Regions from separate parts of the Homo sapiens genome. Here region 1 is linked to region 2. The links are contacts of gene promoters, found by promoter capture Hi-C in human tissues and cell types (Jung and others, 2019). All regions are on one chromosome and are shown on one strand. Each heading gives the region's core, a stretch centred on a gene start or on the middle of the fragment in contact. The rest is flanking DNA. Distances are from core to core; before and after follow the strand shown.

Evidence for each region. The method cuts DNA at HindIII sites, captures the fragments that hold promoters and counts their contacts. A contact is called where the count stands out against the background at its distance.
Region 1: a fragment that was not itself captured here is called in contact with the fragment with the promoter of NBPF3 in region 2 in 1 of the 25 tissues and cell types used here (IMR-90 fibroblasts).

What each region holds. Positions count from the first base shown.
Region 1 is chr1:21,647,079-21,652,962 of GRCh38, forward strand. RAP1GAP (RAP1 GTPase activating protein) reads right to left here. Exons shown (of 25, transcript NM_002885.4): 2 at 2,683-2,718. Among named protein-coding and RNA genes, the nearest start is that of RAP1GAP, 19 kb to the right of the region's middle. RefSeq lists an enhancer at 4,044-4,794 and a silencer at 4,784-4,853. The HindIII fragment of the contact is 6,080 bases long and covers 1-4,941 here.
Region 2 is chr1:21,435,765-21,442,270 of GRCh38, forward strand. NBPF3 (NBPF member 3) reads left to right here and starts at 4,373. Exons shown (of 15, transcript NM_032264.6): 1 at 4,373-4,584. It also overlaps the pseudogene CROCCP5. RefSeq lists silencers at 132-426, 3,977-4,026, 4,992-5,286 and an enhancer at 4,507-5,017. The HindIII fragment of the contact is 9,702 bases long and covers 1-6,506 here.

The DNA.
Region 1 (5,884 bases), core at 652-3,151, 210 kb after region 2:
CAATTCAATTCCACAAGCATTAAGCATTTATGGGCATGGTAGTTGCACAAGACCATGTGGAGGACAGAGACATGAGAAAAGTACAGCCTGGCCTTTATGGGAGAAAGTGGGGGCTAAGTTGAGCTCAAATGTGACTCAATGGGAGGCCGAGATGGGAGGATCACTTGAGCTCAGGAGTTCGAGACCTGACTGGCCAACATGGTGAGACCTTGTCTCTACTAAAAATACAAAAATAATTACCCAGGAGTGATGGCATGCACCTGTGGTCCCAACTACTCAGGAGGCTGAGGCAAGAGATTCACTTGAACCCAGGAGGTGAAGGTTGCAGTGAGCCGAGACTGCACAACTACACTACAGCCTGGGCGACAGAGTGAGACCCTGTCTCCAAAAAAACAAAAAGCGACCAAGCACCTCTCCTTTCAAGGAGTTCAGAGCCTGCTTTGCACTGCAGGGTTATGTGAACACATGCAGCTCACCTGAAGTCAGCTCCCGGAAATGCCCTATTCAACAAGCACATGTTGAGCAGCAAGTGCAGCCCAGAGAGGGAAAATGACTTGCCAAAGTCACACAACTAGAATGTGGCAGAGGCAGATTCAAGTCCACACCTGTCAGACTCAAGTCCACACCTGCCATGCTCTTTCCCCTACCCCAGGAACATTCACGAATGCATGCTCTGTAGCAGCAGAGGAGGCATTCTAAAGAGGGAATGGGGGTGTGGGGATCAAGAAAGAAAACACCCAACAAATGGTGACAAAGTTGGGCTGGAGGTGTGGCGAGGGCCTGTGGAAATGGAAGTGGAGGGACATCAAGGGGAGGTGATGCTGACTGGGCCATGTTCCCGTTGATCAGAAACACAGAGCACGGGAGAAGCAAGCCCCAAACTAGAAAAGGAGGTGGAGACAGCCCTTGAATGCCAGGAGATCATGATTAATGGTCAAAATGGCCACCACTGACGCATGGGCTGGAGTTAAGCGATGGCCTTTGGCAGCTGGGAAGGGAGGGCCTAGGGTTAGCACCTTGGACAGCGGCTCCAGCTAGGCGAGCACGGGCAAGGCATTTTGGGTAATGGGGCGTGTCCTGGGGAATGGCCGATCTTTACTTGATAGACGGGTCAACTGAAGCCCAGAGAGGGGATGGGACTCGCCCAAAGTCACACAGCTGGCCAGTTACAATCAGTCCTGGGCCCTCGTCTCTAACTCTTGGCTTAGGGCTCCCTGGGGTGGGCCTTCTGGGTGGCCCCTGTCTCTGAGTCTTCCCTCAAGCGCATCCTTCGTTCAGACCCTCCCTGTGGCCTGGTGGCCCTGGGACAGAGTAGGCGAGGTTTTGGGCTCTGCACAGAGTCTGGAAGATCAAGGTTCAAATCCCAACTGCTTGTGTGACCTTGGGCAACTCATTTCCCCACTCCGGGCTTCATTGTTCTCATCTGTAATTAGAGATAATAGTCCCTAACTCTGAGGTGTGGCCAGAGTTACATGAGATAACACGTCAGGCGTCTACTACAGTACCCAGTGCATAGCAGGTGCCCAACAAGTGGCAGTTGTCAGTGGTGTTATTACTGAACTCCCTGAAGGAAAGGATGGCATCTTCCTCACCTCTGCTTTTATCCCCCCTCAGTCTACCCCTGCTCTGAGCATAGCACACCATCTTGCAGAAGGAGGGGCTCAAATGGACTAGGCACAGCAGCAGGAGATGATGCCCAGAAAGGGAGAGGAAGCAGCCTGAGGTTGCATGGAGAGCATCAAAGGGAAATAGAAAGGCAGGCTGGGAGCTTAGCTGAGGCACCCTGTGTGCCTCCCACCCCAGGCCTGGCTTCCCAGGAGGGCTCTGCGGGGACGATGGTGCCAGATGGGAGTCGCCCAGCAGCTGGGGGGTACTGCAGGACCCACGGACCCCAGACAGCCCTGAGCAGGGGCAGGAAGCAGCAGCCAGAGCCGTCGGGGGGCTCTCCTGCTGGAGGTGAAGCAGCAGCAGGAGCAGCCAGCCAGGCCCACGTGATGCTGATGCCAGGGAAGCCCGGAGGCACCTGCCTGCTGGGGCATCAGGGTGCCACGATGTATCCCGAGGTGAGGCTGCACCTCCACCCATTGCCTCTTGGTGTTGAGAAGCTGCACATACAGTTGCCTCGTTCCCTCCTCCTCCAAAGAGAGGGCAGCCCCAGACACAGGAAATATGGGAGGAAGGGGTTCTGAGGGCTGTCGGGGGGAGTAACTAGAGGATTTGGGGGTCAGTAAAGGCTAAGGGAGCCCCAGCCCAGCGAGGGGCCACCCTGAGGTGGGAAGAAATAGAGAAGAAAAAAAAGGAAGGAAGCATTTAAGCAAAAAGGGCCTAAAATATGCCAGGGCCAGTTTTTGGTTTTGTTCTTTTTACCTTACACCCTATGAATAGGCATTTTAATCCCCATTTCACAGATGAGAAAATTGAGGTTCAGAGACATTAAGGAATTGCTGAAGTTCACACAGGCAGTGGCAGAGTGAAGATGTAAACCTGCTTTGCCTGCCTCCAAGGCTCTCTAAAAAAGTACTCTGGGGACAGTAAGAGGGTCTGCCCACCCCCTTGCCCTGAGAGGATGGTTGGAAGCTTGGTAAGGTCTGGCCTGGCATCGCAGGGGTAGGAATGGATTGGGGGTATCTGCAGGGACCAGCCAAGGAAACCCAGGCCCTCCTGAGAGTCCCCAGTACTCACCACACACTCCGGCGAGAAGTGAAGGACTTGTCCACCCTGAAACACAACAAGAGGGGCCATAGGTGAGGGGACATCCCTTCTCACCAGCTTGGCCCAGCATATCACACCCACCTGCACTGCACCACCCTCCCAGAGGGGCTGGAGAAGGTCCTGTTTCTAAGGATGCCTGATGCAGTCACTATCACCCTTAGGCTGCAGTCGCCTGACTGTCAGATTAGGGACATGGGAAGGCATAGGGGTTAAAGAGCCAGGAAAAGAGGCAGGACTGGGGGCAGTGGGGCAGGGGGCAGGGCTGTGGGGTGTTAGCAGGGGTGGGGGGACAGGTGGAGTAGGACAGTGACTACAGCAGCTTGGATCATGGCAAGGATGTAGGGGTGCGGCTGGGGCTAGCTTAGAGCCTTTCTAGGCAGGATGGAAGTTTGCTGGATATCTATGGTTTATGGTGGGCAGAAAGAACATCACCCCCAAGGCCCGTAGCCTGCCTCAATCCTGAAGCTGTTCACTCATATCCACCCAGGAAGCAAATGTCTGCGAATCTGGGAGGAGATCTAGGAGGAGCTTCCCCCCACCCTCACCCCAACACACGTACCCTGCTCCCTAAGACTTCAGGGGTACCCCAGACTTTGTCTCCCCCAAATCCACCCAGATCCAGCCCCAGGACGCATGTGTGGGTAGCACTCCCGCCCCGCCCAGATTCTCCTACTGCCCTCTGAGGGCACCTTGGTGCCGCTGGGGGCAGGGGCTGAGCAGCTGTTGGGACAACAAACAACTCGCCTCCTGCCCAGAGGTAAGAAGGGGATGAGGAGGGAGCCCAGCCCAACTCTGCCAGCAAGAGGACGTCCTCCGCAGGGCAGGGCTGGGGGCTCCCAGGGACAGCTGATGGGGAAGGCCGACTCTGCAGACAGTGAGGTCAGAGAAGCCAGGACTTGCCCAAGGTCATAGAACAGGACCCAGCCTGTGAGCTGCCCGTGTTGGCTGGCCAGGAAGCTCAGGGCCTAGCCCAGGCTCCTCTCATCACCTGACAGCTAGCAAGACCCCATATGGAAGGGTAGCCTCTGGCCTCCCACCCCACCCCACCCTCTGCTGGGGTCACCTCAGAAGTTGAGCGTCCACAAGGGGAAGGCAGCTTGGACACAATCCCCATAGCTCAGAGAACACTGACCATGCCCACACACAAGCCCCAGCGCTCCACACCCCAAGGTGGGTCCCATGGGTCCCTATGACCACTGGGAGGTAGGGCCTGGTGAAGGTCATGGAGCCGCTTGTCTGGCTGGGCAGGGGCTCTGAGCCCACTCTGTCTAACCCATCGTCCCTCCAATTTGCCAAATCTCCGCAACAGGCATAAATCCCCATCCCACCTCTGCACCCCTTGACCCCAAGATGAACCTGCTGCCACTCTGACCTCCTCCAGGCCTCCAAGCCCAGGCAGCCAGTGGCCCAGGGAGGAGGAGGTTCCTGAGAGCCAGGATGCAGGAAGGAGGGCAGCCTGGTGCCCAGGGTGGGCAGGACCTGCTAAGGGCTTCTAGAGTCCCTTTATCCAGAGCGTCACTGAGGGGCCCAACAGCTGCAGAGGCAAAGTGGGAGGTCCAGCAGAACCTCCCCCTGACCTGCCTGCCCCTACTCCCACATACCTATACATGTGAGCAGTTGCGCACACACGCATGCACACACACGCGCGCACACACAGGCGGAGTAGCCCCGCAGCCCCAGTCACATGCATAAGCGCCACTATCATGTGCTTAGACACAAACACAGCAATGTCCACCCTGCACTCACCTCCCCACACATGCACATGGACACGCAATGGGAACACACACAGACACAGAAACAGAAACACACACACACAGGCGCCACAGCACGACAGCCATGCGCGCACTGAGGTCAAACGCTCAGCCCCCACAGCAGTCATAGCCCAGGCCCACCCGCCCAAACGCGAGCACACCCCGCACGGGCTCCCCCCCACGCGTGCACACGCACACGCGCGCACGCGCCCCGCCCCGCGCCGCGCCACGCCCTACCCGCCGTAGGCCCCGAAGGTGAAGCTGCGCTTCCGGCCGCTCATGGTGCCGCCGCCGCCGCCCGGCCCGGCCCGCGCGAGCCGGAGCCGCCTTCCCGCGCCCGGGTCACCTTGGCAACGCGGCCGCCCCGCCCCCGCCCCCGCCCCAGCTCGGATACGTCCGCGCCCCAGCGGGCCGCGGTCCAGCTGCCGGGGGCCGCCGGCGCAGAAAGGGCCGCTTGTTCGCGCCGCCCTGGGCCGGCCGGGCGGGGGCTTCGCGGGACTTTCCGAGCCGGGCCCAGCCGGGCGGGGATTGCGGGGCCCGGGGCCCGGGGCAGCCCCTCCCCCACCCCCTTCCCGGCCGCCGCCCCCCGTCCAGGCCGCAGACCCTCTGTTGGAGGGACGCCCTCCTCCCGCCCCCTCGAGCCGCCGCGCTCCTCGGCGGATCCGTCCCCATCATCACGAGCTGGGAGCTCCCTCCCAGAAGCCTGGGTCTGCACGGCGGGCATGTCCCGCCCCTCCCTGTCCCTCGACTTTCTCATCTGTAAAGTGGGATTCCTCCCGCCGGCCTCCTAGGACCTGGGGATGACGAAATGAGTTCACGCACGTAAAGCGCTCGGCCCAGGCCCTGGCGTACAGCAGATGCTTAATAAATGCCGGGTACAAGAGTTCCGCAGGGGGACAGCGTTCTACCCTTCCCGCGAACGAATGAGTGAATGAACAGAGCCTCCAATAGCCCCTCCTTGCCCACCTGTCTCCCCTTCTCCCAGGAGTCCCCTTCCCCTTTGCCCTGGTGAGGAGGAAGAGCAAAGGGGAGGAGTGGAGACGCCCCCCTCCACTCCCCTCTTGAAAAGTCATGCAGTCCAGGTCCCAACCTTTAGAGGGAACTGGGCTCTGAGTTCTGCAGCAGGTACTCATTCGCTCACTAAACACTCCAAGTCGCTCTTCTGCACCCAGCTCGCCCAGAGCTCACAGTCCAGCGCTCTTCCTCAGAGTAAGCTGTTTCCCCCACCCAAGTGGAGCTGTGTCAGCAGACACCGGGTTACTAGCCCTGACCCCAGAGCACACTGCCCTCCAGCCCAACACCCAGTCTTCCCCCCATAGAGGGAGAGATCCTTCCCCCAGGCCCTGCACCCAAGGAGGCCCCCACAGTCTCAAGGTTTGCTATGGGATTTTCTGTTTAAACAAACTGCAGGGCACAGATGC
Region 2 (6,506 bases), core at 3,123-5,622:
GGGACACTCACTCTTCGGGGGTACAGCCTGGTTTGGTCACCCCCCTGTCTGGGGCCTGACCTGGGTTCTAGGTCCGGGTCTCCTCCCATCAACTGTGTGACCTGGGGCAGAACACAGCTCTTCTCTGGGCCTAGTCTGTTCAGTGAGGGTCTCGGGCCTGCTGTGGGGTCTACCAGGTGGCTGGCCTATGGACATGGCTTCAGAGGCCACCTGGTCAGTGGTGGGCCAGGGAGGGAGGGGAAGGGGAGGTTTCAGATAAGACAGAACCCCGACTACCCTTTGTCTCCCTCACCGCACTCCAGGAATCCCTGTGGCTACAGGAGCAGGCGGCCCTGGAGACAGAGGACGGAGAGGAGCTACAGCAGAGCCTAAGGGACCTGGCACAGGTGTGAGCCCAGAGAGGTGGGAAGACAGGGCCCTGCCAGGAAACCCCGGGCTCCCTCGCCACGCCTTTCGGTGGCCTGGGACTGAACTGCAAATGGGTGGGGGCCTGGGACCCAGGCTGTAGCTGCTCAGCACCCCTGCTAACTCACCTGGCCCCTGCCCTGGGGAGCCCCCAGTCTCAGAGGGGAGGCACGGCCCTTTCGGAGCCCACCTGTGAGCAATGCCAAATGATGTCTTTGCAATAAACGGGAGGCCTCAGCGGCGAGCTGAGGGCTGAGTTAGTGGAGGAGGTGAAATCAGGAAGGCTTCTTGTAGGAGGCAGCATTTGGGATGAGGCGGCCCCCAGCCTCGCCTAGGCGTCTTTGCCCAGCCAACCCCACGGTTCCTAGCTCTGCGGCCTCCTTCTGCCTCCCTCCTCTACCCTCAGGCCGTCCTGTCCGAGGCTGAGAGCGGCGTCCAGCTGAGCGGCTCCAAGTGCACCGTGGATGCGTCGGAGCGCAGCCTGCGGGGACTCTGGGGCCAGCGGACCCCGTCCCCACCGCGGTGCTACTCGCCAGGCAGAGGCCGTTCGCCCCGCCGAGGCCCCTCCCCGGCCTGCTCAGACTCCTCCGCCCTCGCCCTGATCCACTCCGCCTTGCACAAGCACCAGCTGCAGGTCCAGGTAGGAAGGGGCTTGAGCGTTCTGGGTGCAGCCAGAGGCCCGGGGGGAGGGGCTCGCGCCCTCCGGGTGGGGGCGGGGACGGGTCCGGGGAGGTCCGGCGGAGGAGTCTGAGCGCCCTGGGGTGCAGCCAGAGCCCTGAGAAATAGTGTCTGAGAGTGTCAGGATCCCCAAGGAGGTGGCCGAGAGCTCTGTGGTGAAGCCGAGCCCAGAAGTGGGGGTGCTTGGGCAGCTGGGGGTGGGTGCTTGGGCAGCTGGTGGAAGGAGGAGGCTGCGGCAGTGTTAGGGTCCTGGTAGAGAGGGAGACAGGTCCCTGGTCATGCAGAGCCAGGACCCTGGGAAAAGGTCTAGCAAGGGAAATCAGAGCTTGGGAACTAGGGGCAGAGCCAGGGTAGGGAGGAGTCTGAGAGTGGAACCAGGATGCAAGGGGGAGGAGCCTGGGAGCCCTCGGGGTGGTGTCAGAACCCAGGAGAGGAGTGTGCCTGGGGGTTTGTCTGGCATCGGTGGGTGGGTGGGGGCTTTGATTGGAGTTGTCCGGGACCCCAGGGAGGTGAGGGCTCAGAGGGTGGTGAGAGCACATTGGGGAGTGGAATCCTGGCTCTCAAACGTAGGCCTAGAGGAACAGATGTAGCGCCTGCGGGACAAGACCGAGGGCACCATGCAGGTCCACGAGGACGCCCAGCGCGAGGTGCAGCGGCTGCGGAGAGCCAAGAAGCTCCTGAGCAGGTGCTGGGGAGGTCTGAGCTGGGGGCTACTGAAGAATAAGTCAGCGTTTGGGCATAACACCAGTCGAGCCTTATGCGTGTGACTCTGCACTAATATGGTCGCCACTAGCTACATGTGCCTATTAACATTTATTTATTTTTGGGATGCAGTCTCGCTCTGTCCCCCAGGCTGGAGTGCAGTGGCGAGATCTCGGCTCACTGCAAGCTCCGCCTCCCGGGTTCGTGCCATTCTCCTGCCTCAGCCTCCCGAGTAGCTGGGACTACAGGCGTCCGCCACCTTGCCTGGCTAATTTTTTTTTTTTTTTTCTTTTGAGACGGAGTTTCACTCTGTGGCCCAGGCTGGAGTGCAGTGGAGCGATCTCGGCTCACTGCATCCTCTGCCTCCCAGGTTTAAGCAATTCTCACCTTAGCCTCCGAGTAGCTGGGATTACAGGCATGCACCAACACCCCCGGCTAATTCTTAGTTTTAGTAGAGATGGGGTTTCTCCATGTTGGTCAGGCTGGTCTTGAACTCCCGACCTCAGGTGATCCTCCCGCCTGGGCCTTCTAAAGTGCTGGGATTACAGGCGTGAGCCACCATGCCTGGGCTATTTATTTTTAAGATGGAGTCTCACTCTGTCCCCTAGGCTGGATTGCAGTGACATGATCTCAGCTCACTGCAACCTCCGCCTCCTGGGTTCAAGCAATTCTCCTGCCTCAGCCTCCCGAGTAGCTGGAATTACAGGCGTGCACCACCATGTCTGGCTAATTTTTGTATTTTTAGTAGAGACGGGGGTTTCACCATGTTGGCCAGGCTGGTCTGGAACTCTTGCCTTCAGGTGATCCACCCGCTTCGGCCACCCAAAGTGCTGGGATTACAGGTTGAGCCACTGTGCCCAGCCCAGTTTTGTGATCTTTAGAAAATCACTTCTCCATGCCTCATTTTTCTCATCTGTAGGATAGGGGAAGTAATGATACTTAAAAATGTAGCTTTCTTTTGAGGATCAAATAAGCTGTTCTATATATAGCACTTAGAACAGAACAGATTTTGGAACATGCTAAGTGCTCACTGAATGTTAGCTCTCATTAATATTGTTATTGCCACTATATGCTGGACCTGTTCTAAGCAGTCCATGGATATTTAATCCTCACACCAGTCCTATGGAGTCGTTCCTGTTATTTTCAGCATTTTAGAGGTAGGAGAATGAAAACTTAAATGACCTGCACAGTCACGTGGCTCGTCCTGATCTGTCTTTCCCTAGGGCCTGGGGTGAGGTTCACAGAAGATAATGTGCCTTGAGCACTTGGTGAACTATAAAACTCTAAACCATTGAGGGCCCTAGTTTTATCTGTTCTCCTGGCCCAGAGCAGATTAGAAATAGCAAATTAGTGCGAAGGCAGAGGGTGGCAAACACAGGCCCTTCAGAAGGGCAGTTGGCAGCACTGGGGGAGGTGCCTGAAAAGCACAAAAGCAGGCATTGCAGCCCCATGGTGTCGCCCACCTTGGTGGAGAGATAGGATTGAACTTCTGTGTGAGCTCTTTGGAACGCTCTTCCTGACCCCTAACCAGTTTGGGGCCTGGGACTTGGCACGTGGCTGGCACGTGCCAAATGGGAAGGGAGGCTGGGTGTGGTGGCACACGCCTGTAGTCCTAGCTACTCGGGAGGCTGGGGCAGGAGAATCGCTTGATCCTGGGAGGCAGAGGTTGCAGTGAGCTGAGATTGTGCCACTGCACTCCAGCAAGGGTGACAGAGCAAGACTCGAGGTCAGGAGTTCTAGACCAGCCTTGCCAACATGGTGAAACCCCGTCTCTACTAAAAATACAACAATTAGCCAGGCAGGATGGTGGGCACCTGTAATCCCAGCTATTTGGGAGGCTAAGGCAGGACAATAGCTTGAACTTGGGAGGTGGAGGTTGCAGGAAGCCAAGATCATGCCATTGCACTCCATCCTGGGCAACGAGAGCAAGACTCTATCTCAAAAAAAAAAATAAAAATAAAAAAAGCGAAAACGTACATAAAATATCCCTGGAAGGATTCACAGGAACAGCATCCCACAGATTGCCTACAGGGTGAGACTGGGAGACAGGAATGGAAAAGATGCCTATTTTAACTTTACAATTTTCTGTACTATTTGATTTTTTTTTTTTAATAGATACGGGGCTCTTTCTTTTTCGTCCAGGCTGGTCTCGAACTCCAGGGCTCACGCCTGGCCCTATTTGAATTTCGAACCATGTAAATGTACCATCTTTTCAGAAAAAAATAAAATCCGTGTGGGCACGCGGGGACGCTCCGGGCCTCCGAGGGGGTGTGTCTTCTGCTTCTTTAACCTGGCAGGGGCGGTTCAAGTGGCCGGGGAAATCAGCGATTTGGAGGGTCGAGGGCTGGTGCTTTGAGAGAGACGCGGAGGGCAGAGAGGGATTCCCCGTCCCAGCTGCACTCGGTGCATCACCTAGGTTACTCCTTTTCTCGGCCCGCAGGGCCCCTAACCTGCTCGAACCTGTTGTGCAGTAGAGGCCGCCGAGTCCCTTTAAGGCCCCGCCGCGCCTGCGCCTTGGGTTCTCCTGACGCGGCCCATCCGGACCCTGAGGAGCCAGTGGGCTGCAGGCGCAGGCGCAGGCGCAGGCACAGGCGAGGGGTTGGGTGGCGGTTGAGACAGCGGCGGTACTGGGATGGGTAGGTGAGGATCCCGAGACTGAGTGAGCTTCTGCGCGCGGTGCTTTTGGGAACGCGGGACTGGCAACCTGCGGCGCCAGGAGCTGGGCCGAGGCGCGGCGGCGCGGCTGCGGGCCGCCGTCTGGATGGGAAGTTACGGCGAAGTCCACCCAGCGTTTCTCAGGTGAGGGCGCCGCGCCAGGCTGGACGGGCGGTGAATCCGGGACCGGCGGGCGCACACCTGGGTCGAGGCGCGGCCGTCGCAAGTTTTGTTGCGCGAGCGCGGGGGCGGGTGGGAGGTGGGGGGTGTGGGGGGTCGTGCACCGCCGGGGGCTGAGTTCCCCGCGCTGGATTCTTCGCCTGCCGCTGCCGCCCTCAGCCCAGCTCTCGTGGGCGCTGGGGAAGAAACTCGCTGGCGGGTGTTCTGTGGCATCCCAGGGGGTGGAGGGACGGAGCAGCTTCGGGGGCACGTCCTCCTATATCCTGTAGAGGACACTGACTCCGCACCCCACCCTCGAGGCCGGAAATCGGTTCCCTCTGCGGGCCTGAGAGGCGAGAGCGCTCGCGCCCCTGACTTGCAAAGTTGGGGTCTTTACTGGCCTCCGGGCTTCTGCTCCTGGCGGTGTCTCCAGGCTGGTGATGGGCAAGCCAGGTGTGCCAGGTCCAGGATGCACATGAGGAGCGTTTGTAGCCATCACTGAATCACCTCCTGACTAGCGGGGCAAGCCTCAAATGAACCGCAGGATTTCGGCTAGGTTGGATTGTGGGGTTGCTGTTTGCACTCCGAGGAGTTGCTGTGGTTTCCCTGTGCCTGTCTGTCTGTCTTTCTGGCTTCTTAGATCATCATCTCATGTGGCGTCCTTTCACCGAAGAGTTAACCAAGACGTTTGGCCTAGTTTCCTTGCTTTCCTTCTGTCTTTTGCTGCTAGAGCTGCTTTCGAAAAGAAGTCTTTTCTGGCAGTGGTACCTTTTCTTTGGGTTACGGTGTTGTTCATCCTTTCTTTGCCAAAGGAATGAATCCCAGTGCTTCACGAAGTTAAAGATCTGCTGGTAGTGTTTAATCTGTTTGGAGCTGATATGCGTTAGTAGCTTTCTTTTTGTTTTTAAATTTTATTAGTAAAATTTCACTAGTGAACCAGAAGCTATTTTTTTCTATTCTGAAATGCTGGCTTTAAGATTTCTGATAACTTTGCGTCAAAGAAATCTTGGAAAAGTTACTGAAGTATACAGAAGAAGTTCACAATTTTAAATGTGCAGGGGGCCCGGGCGCAGTAGATCACACCTGTAATCCCAGCACTTTGGGACGCCAAGGTGGGTAGATCACTTGAGCCCAGGATTTCCACACTAGCCTCGGCAATGTGGCAAAACCCTATCTCTACTAAAAATACAAAAGTTAGCTGTGTGTGGTGGTGTGTGCCTGTAGTCCCAGCTACCCGGTAGGCTGAGGTGGGAGGATCACCAGAGCCCGGAAGGTTGAGATTGCAGTGAGCCGTGATCATGGCAGTGCACTCCGACCTGGATGGCAGAGTGAGAGCCTATCTCAAAAAAAAAAAAAAAAAAAGTAATGAATTTTGACCAAGTGAACCACCACAGATCAAGAAATAGAACATTACTAGACTGGAGTATATTTTTGGAGTGGCATTGTTGGTTTTAGAGGTATATGAATGATAAAACTTTAGTATTACATATTGTTGAACATTTTCCCAAAGTGGTTGTACCATTTAGCAAGGATATTCTGGTTACCCCACATCCTCGCTGATGCCTGTCAGTTAAAAATCATTTTGCCATTCTAGTAGGGGTGCAGTAATATATCAGTGTGGTTTCATTGAGATTGAGTATCTTTTATTGCCATTTATGTGTCTTCTTTTGTGACATGCCTGTTAAACCTTTTTATCCAGTTTTCATTGATATGCTTGTTTTCCTGTTGATTTGTAATACTTTATTCTGGATATGCCTCCTTTCTAGGATTTATATGTATTGCATTTCCCTTTTTTCAATCTGTAGCTTGCGTTTTCACTCTTTTATGTTGTTTTTTCATGAATGGAGATTCTCTGTTTTTTTTCTTTTTGAAACAGGATCTCACTCCATTGCCCAGGCTGGAGTGCA